Regions from separate parts of the Homo sapiens genome. Here region 1 is linked to region 2. Evidence: promoter capture Hi-C in human tissues and cell types (Jung and others, 2019). All regions are on one chromosome and are shown on one strand. Each heading gives the region's core, a stretch centred on a gene start or on the middle of the fragment in contact. The rest is flanking DNA. Distances are from core to core; before and after follow the strand shown.

What was found. The method cuts DNA at HindIII sites, captures the fragments that hold promoters and counts their contacts. A contact is called where the count stands out against the background at its distance.
Region 1: a fragment that was not itself captured here is called in contact with the fragment with the promoter of MCMDC2 in region 2 in 1 of the 25 tissues and cell types used here (hippocampus).

The regions. Positions count from the first base shown.
Region 1 is chr8:66,918,024-66,921,622 of GRCh38, forward strand. MCMDC2 (minichromosome maintenance domain containing 2) reads left to right here. Exons shown (of 15, transcript NM_173518.5): 15 at 980-3,599. The coding sequence ends at 1,146. Among named protein-coding and RNA genes, the nearest start is that of SNORD87, 2.7 kb to the right of the region's middle. The HindIII fragment of the contact is 4,437 bases long and covers 1-3,599 here.
Region 2 is chr8:66,868,949-66,872,636 of GRCh38, forward strand. MCMDC2 (minichromosome maintenance domain containing 2) reads left to right here and starts at 1,823. Exons shown (of 15, transcript NM_173518.5): 1 at 1,823-1,883. RefSeq lists an enhancer at 2,040-2,109. The HindIII fragment of the contact is 9,372 bases long and covers 1-3,688 here.

The DNA.
Region 1 (3,599 bases), core at 134-2,633, 49 kb after region 2:
CACAAAGCTTCTAATTTCTCCACATCCTCTCTAACACTTGTCATTTTGTTTTTTATTTTTATAATAAATCCTTATAGGTGTGAGGTAGTAGCTCATTGTAGTTTTGATTTGTATTTTCCTAGTGATTAGTGATGTTGAACATCTTTCTCATGTGCTTATTGGTCATTTGTTTTTCTTTAGAGAAACGATATTAGTTCTCCGCCTATTTTTTAATGATTATTTTCTTACTGTAGATTTATAGACCCCTTTATCAGAGATTTGATTTGCAAGTATTTTCTCCCATTCCATAGGTTGCCTTTTCACTGTTGATTGTATTGTTTTATGCAGTTTTAAATTTTGATATGGTCCCATTTATGTGTATTTTCTTTTGGTGCCTGTACTTTTGATGTCACATTCAGGAAATCATGGCCAAATCCAAAGTGAATCTGTCCTTTCCCCTAGAATGGTCTTGAAACCCTTCCATAGATTTATGTTGTCTGCCTTTATGTGAATGGTTTTAACAACTGAGAAATGTACTACAATGTCTTTATCTTTGATCGTCCACTTAGCCGTTATCAAATAAAGATTAGTATTTCTTACCTTCCAGTACCTTTTCTCCCTACTCCTGTCACCTCCTCACATCACTCATCAGCTTCAAAACTATAATGACTATTTCAGTAGAAGGCAAGTTTCTAGTTCCAAACTTTAAAATATAAACATCAACATACTTCTTCCATTGGCCCTGGTACCAATGCGTGTGCACTTACTGAACCTGCTTTCTGGGTTTCAGAAAACAAGAGTCAGATTTCAATAATGATTATTGAAATACTCTACTGAATAGGTCAGAACTTAATTTTTTGACTTTTATTTTTCACAGAACCACATGGGCTCAGACTTAATTTTTAAGATTCCATTAAAATATTTTGGTTGAAAATGTGATTTCATACTTGTCATTTTAAGGAGTATTTGTCATTTACACTCTATTATCTTCTTCATTTAGGGGCCACTGTATTTTGTGTTGCTCCGAATGCAGTATTTCCATTTGAACTGTATAATGAAGAATACTTAGAGCAAAGGGATCTCTATCTGACTCAGTGCCAACAACAGCTGGAACAATTTATTGCCACATATGGACCTGGGACAACTATTTTCTCTAGTGATGAATAAGCAATTTGAGGAATTTTTGTTCATTCCTACTTAAGCAGTGGAGAAAAAGTGTGACTATTTTGAGAGTGACTTTGAAGTAATGCTTTGATAATACTCTGTACAGGAATATATTACAATACTGTTTTTAAAAATATAAAATATAGTCCCCTCAAAACTAATTGCTAATGGGATAAATACTAATCCAAACCTCTAAAACCAACAGAATTTTAAAACTTAGAACAATGTGGACAATTTAAAGTGATAAAGTTGTCAAGGAGAATACTATAAAGAAAAACCTGGTTAGCCCAGAATACCAGTGGTGAACAGATAAAAATGTAAATGTTGCAATTTGAGCAGTGTGTAAAATGGCAACCTTTATGTAGTTCACTCTACTGTCACAAGATGGCAATAACTCTTTACCTACAAATTACTCTAAAACATTTTTCTTCCACTTGTGAACTTGCTAAACTGATGAGTAAATACTTTATATAACCCGAAGCTTCAAATGTAAGGCCTTTTCATACTTTATTACTGGCCTGTCCATTACATACTACTGTTTTAGAAGCCCTAAATATGGAATCGGGAAAAGCCTTGGAAGTTTTCCATACGTATACGCTAGGTTAAATGAAAAAAATACTTTACACGGAAACAAGGAGCCAATAACTTATAAATTGGCTCTCTAACCCTAACTGGTTACAAGAAAGGCTCCAAAAGGCAAAGAAACCAACTTGCAAATCTAGTCCTCATTTTTGGAGGGAAGATATCTGCTCTGAAAAGATAGGGGCACCATGAGAAAACAAATCCATCTTGTAAAATTTATAAATCCTTTTTAGTTCAGTTTCCATAACTTTAATAAAAGATCAGTTCTATTCACAGAAAAGCAAAATGTCATTACCAAATTGCCACTTTATTAACCAAGATGTTACCATGCATCAATTCTTTCAAAACTGGTCCCTTAACAGAGATGCTTAACTGTACAGCTGGACCTCTCCCACTCTCCACAGGACCCGGAGGAAGTTGTTCACTATTACTGAATACCTACTAGTAGCAGGGAGTAAACAGTATTAGTTTTCAGAAGCCAAAGGTAGTGTTTTTGTTTTTTGTTTTTTTGAGATGGGGTCTCGCTCTGTCATGCAGGCTGGAGTGCAGTGGTGTTATCTTGGCACTGCAACCTCCACCTCCCGGGTTCAAGTGATTCTCCTGCTGGGATTACAGGTGCACTCCACCATGACTGGCTAATTTTTGTATTTTTAGTAGAGACAGGGTTTCACCATGTTGGCCAGGCTGGTCTTGAACTCCCGACCTCAGGTGATCTGCCTGCCTCAGTCTCCCAAAGTGCTAAGACAACAGGTATGAGCCAACACGACTGGCGACTGTAGTTTTCAACAAAATACTTACATATTACAGTTCTATAATGTTAAGACGTTTATTTTGTGCTTCTCAAATACTACATTTCAAACATGTCTGGCTCTCTATGGGGGGAAGGCAAAACACATTCCTATTTTATAAAACTAGGATCCTTTTACAATTGGAAAGTTTAAAAACTTTTTTTTTTGGAGACAGGGGCTGTCACCGTTTGGAGGGTTGTGGCGCCACCTCAGCTCCCTGCAGCCTTGACCTTGCAAGTAATTCTCCCACCTTAGGCCTCCGAGTAGCTGGGACTACAGGGACATGCTACCACCCTGGGATAACTTCTGCATTTTTTGTAGAGATGGAATTTTGCCATGTTTCCCAGGCTGGTCTCAAGTCATCCTCCCATCTCAGTACCTCAGCTTCCCAGTGTTGGGATTACAGGAGTGAGCCACCATGCATGGCACAAAGATGGCTTTTATTTACTTATCTATATTTATATATACATATTTATATGTAGCTGTCACCCAAGCTGTAGTGTACTGATGCAATCATAGCTCACTGCCACCTTAATCTCCCCAGCTCAAAAAACCCAACCTCAGTCTCAAAGATGGTTACTTCACCACAAAAAAATTAAAATGTTTAAGTTTCTCATTAAAGAGTAGAAGTGTACATTCAGAAACAATTATGGGAGGTAATTCATTAATATTAAATATGCCAACGGTATTTTAAAGGTTATTGGAGAATTAGAAGGGGGTGGGGTGCAGGACGAAAAATTAATGGGTGCAATGTACACCATTCAGGTAATGGCTGCACAAAAAGCTCAGACTCCAAACTACTTCATATACCTATGCAACAGAACTGCACTTATACCCCCCAAATCTATACTGAGGGAAGTGACTAAGATGTTGCTATACAGGTTTTATACCATTTATCATATAAAAATTATAACCTTGGTAAAAGGAATTTATAAGCTAGTACTCAACAGGAGAAAAGATTTAGCTCTAAACCTTCACCCAGATATAAATTCAGCTTTAGAATTCTTGCCAATTTAGTCCTAGACAGACTGGTCTGCTCAGTCATTTCTCTTAACATAGCATATTGCTTAGTTATTACATGTACTA
Region 2 (3,688 bases), core at 573-3,072:
ACCAGCATGGGAAACAAAATGAGACCCCTGTCTCTACGAAAAAAAATTTACAAGTTTGCCAGGCATAGTTGAAGTCTTAGCTACTTGGGAGCCTGAGGTGAGAGGATCACTTGAGCCAGGAGATTGAGACTGCAATGAGCCCTGATTGGGCCACTGTGTCCTGGGACACAGGTAGACCTTGTCTTAAAAAAAAAAAAAAGGAAATACTAATGGTGGAGAAGCAGGTACAATTTAAGGGTTTGGGGTTTTTTGGTAACAGTTTCTTTTTTTTTTTTTTTGGAGACAGGGTCTCGCTCTATCGCCCAGGTTGGAGTGCAATGGTGCGATATCTGCTCACTGCAACTTCTGCCTCCTGGGTTCAAGTGATTATCCTGTCTGCTAATAGTATTAATCCAGAGTAGCTGGAATTACAGGCGCGCGCCACCACACCTGGCTAATTTTTGTATTTTTAGTAGAGATGGGGTTTCACCATGTTGTCCAGGCTGGTGTCCACTCCCGACTTCAAGTGACCCACCCGCCTTGGCCTCCCAAAGTGCTGGGATTATAGGCGTGAACCACCGCACCCGGCCAACCTCAATAAGATTTAATTCAAGTACTGTACAATTCAACTATTTAAAATGTACAATCAACTGGCTTTCAGTAGATTCAGAGTTGTGTGACTATCACCACAATCAATTTTAGATCATTTCCATCACTTCTAAAAGAAAACCTGTGTGAATTCATGAACAACAAAAAATATGGTACACACACAGTGGAATATTATTCAGCCTTAAAAAGGAAGGAAACTCTAACATGTTACAACATGGATGAAACTGGAAGATGTTTGGCAAAGTGAAATAAGCCCATCACAAATGGACAAATACTGTTTGATTCTATTTACATGAGGTACCTGGAGTAGTCGAATTCAAGGAAGCAAAGACTGATGGTTGCCAGGGGATGAGGAAGAGAAGAATGGGGAGTTGTTTAATGTGTATGGAGTTTCAGTTTGGGAAAATGAAAACAGTTCTACAGATAGTGGTGATGAGTGCACAGTGTGAACGTAGGTAGTGTAACTACACTTTAGGATGGTTAAAATTGTATATTTTATGTATATTTTACCACAATTTAAAAAGAACAAGAAATCCCATACGCATTAGCAATCATTCTGCATTCTCAACCAACCTCTGGGCAACCACAAATCTGCTTTCTTTCCTTATGGATTCGCCTATTCTGGACATTTCATATAAACAAAATTACACAACATATGGCCTTTTGTGTCTGGCTTCTTACATAGTGTTTGCCAGGTTCATCCATGTTGTAGCATGTATTAGTGCCTCATCACGTTTTATGGCCAAAACCATTCCATTGTATGGCTTACACCACAGTTATCCATTAATCGGTGATGGGCATTCATATTGTTTCCACTTTGGGGCTACTATGAATAATACTATGAACATTCGTGTAGAAGTCTCTGTGTGAACATATGTTTTCAATTCTCTTGGGTGTATTTATAAATACCTAAGAGTGGAATTACTGGATCATAGGGTAACTTTATGTTGAGTCCTTCGAGGGAATACTGGAATGTCTTCTAAAGTGACTAGACATTTTGCATTCCCTGAAGCAGCGTTTTGAATTTTTTAAACATAACATCATTTGCCTGAGATAACAACAAAAACCAAACGTAGACCTATTTTTTCTCTGCTTCGCTGGGAGGGAGCAAGAGTGAAGCTATTAAAACGTAAGGGAACAAGCCCGGCTAGTTCCCCTGCTGACCCGAGGGCGCGGGCGGTCCCGGCAGGCCCCGCGACGCAGCCAACGGCCGGGACGTGCGCGCATGCGCGCTAGGACTCCGCTCCGCCTACGCTGCAGGCGGAGAGCAACCGCCAAGCTTGGTGGGAGTCAAGGTGAGTGCAAAGCACTACAGCGCTGGGGTCCCACTAACTCGAGGTCACCGCTGTCAGTGGGAGGGGTCCTCATGAGTCTGGACTCGCTTTCATCCGCTTTGGTTGTGAAGTGTTTTCCTGCAGTCTTCCCCTCACCAGTTCATCCCCGGTGCTGACAGGGCACGGAGAGAAGACAGAATCCGCGCCTGTTCCACGTGCAGCAACACTCGGCGTTCGTTAGACTAAGGGAAGACAGGGAGTTAGAATTTTATCCCTGTTCCCTCACTTAACGCTTTTCCACAGGCTTCTATGTCTTTTCCCGACTTAATATGCCTCCGTGAAAACGCGTCCACTCCCCAGGGCCTCCGCTTTACGCAGTGACACCCAGACTTAGCTCTAACTCTTTTGATGCCACCGAACTCCAGGCCCTGATTTATGGCCCCCTCCTGCTTACATCTATCAGGGAATCCCAAGAGTCCTCAAAGTCAGGATATCTCAAGGGAACTTTTCCTCATGTCCTTAACACTTCTCCTTGGGCTCTGTATTTCCATTAGAGCAGCAGCATCCACCCATACCCATATTAAAACCCCACTTAGCTTTCGATTACTCTTCTGCGTATTGTAGACTGATCACCAGGTCCAGTGTGCAATCTTTAAAATTCTAGAATCGATCTCCTCCATTCCATTTCGTTCCTAATGCCCTGGATCAGGCCATCCAACTTGTAGGAATATCCCAATAGGTAGAAACTGATTATCAGCTCTCCCGCTATTCCAACCTACTTTCCACATTGGCAGCAGGCACAGGTTTCCAAAATAAAAATCTGACTATGGGCTAGGCGTAGTGGCTCATACCTGTAATCCCAGCACTTTGGGAGGATGAGACAGCTACCCAAGAGTTGGAGACCAGCCTGGGCAACACAGTAAAACTCCGTCTCTACAAAAAAATTAAAAATTATCTGGATGTGGTGGCACGTGCCTATAGTCCCAGGCTGAGAAGGGAGGATAGCTTGAGCCCGGGAGGTAGAGGCTGCAGCAAGCCGAGATCACGCCACTGCAACTCCAACCTGGGCAACATAGTGAGACCCTGTCTCAAAAAAAAAAAAAATCTGACTATAATACTAACCCCCTTAAAAAAACTTTGATGGCTTCCCTTTGCCTATATAATCTTCAAAAGCGTACATAATCTGGCCTCACCCAACCATTTAATTACCAATAGTCGCCCTTCATTCCACCCCAGAAACCTAATGTTCTAGTGCAGCAAAGATGTGATGTTCTGAACACAACACACATTTTGAGATCATTGTCCTTATGGCCACGGAGAAATAAACGCTAAAGTTTCACTTTTATGTTGTAGCAAAAAGGACAGTCTTAATTGGTTTTCTTTGGAAAGTAGCCTGAACTCCACGTAGTGGGTGTGTGGATCCAGTAGTGTAAAACTGATAATGAGGGTGGAAGGTGACCTCCATCTCTGGAACACTTTCTCTTTCTCTTCACCTCTCCTCCAATTAGTGAAATAGTCGTCTATCAAATGTCACCTTAAAGTAGAATTCATACCTTCTTCCCTATGACCCCACCATCTTCAATGAAAATGTCTTAAAATAATGGAAAATGTTATGACCCATATACAAGGATGACCCCAAATTTTGTGAAATATTTCATATATGTTGTTCCTTTCATGCTACCTGGTATATTCATATTTCTATTACAGCACTTAAATTGCCATGTAACTGTTTACATATATGTCTTCTCTCACTGCACTCTTTCTGAAGGATAGGGACAATATTTTACTCATCTTAGTATCCTTAAGTGCCTAGGACAATCTAGTAT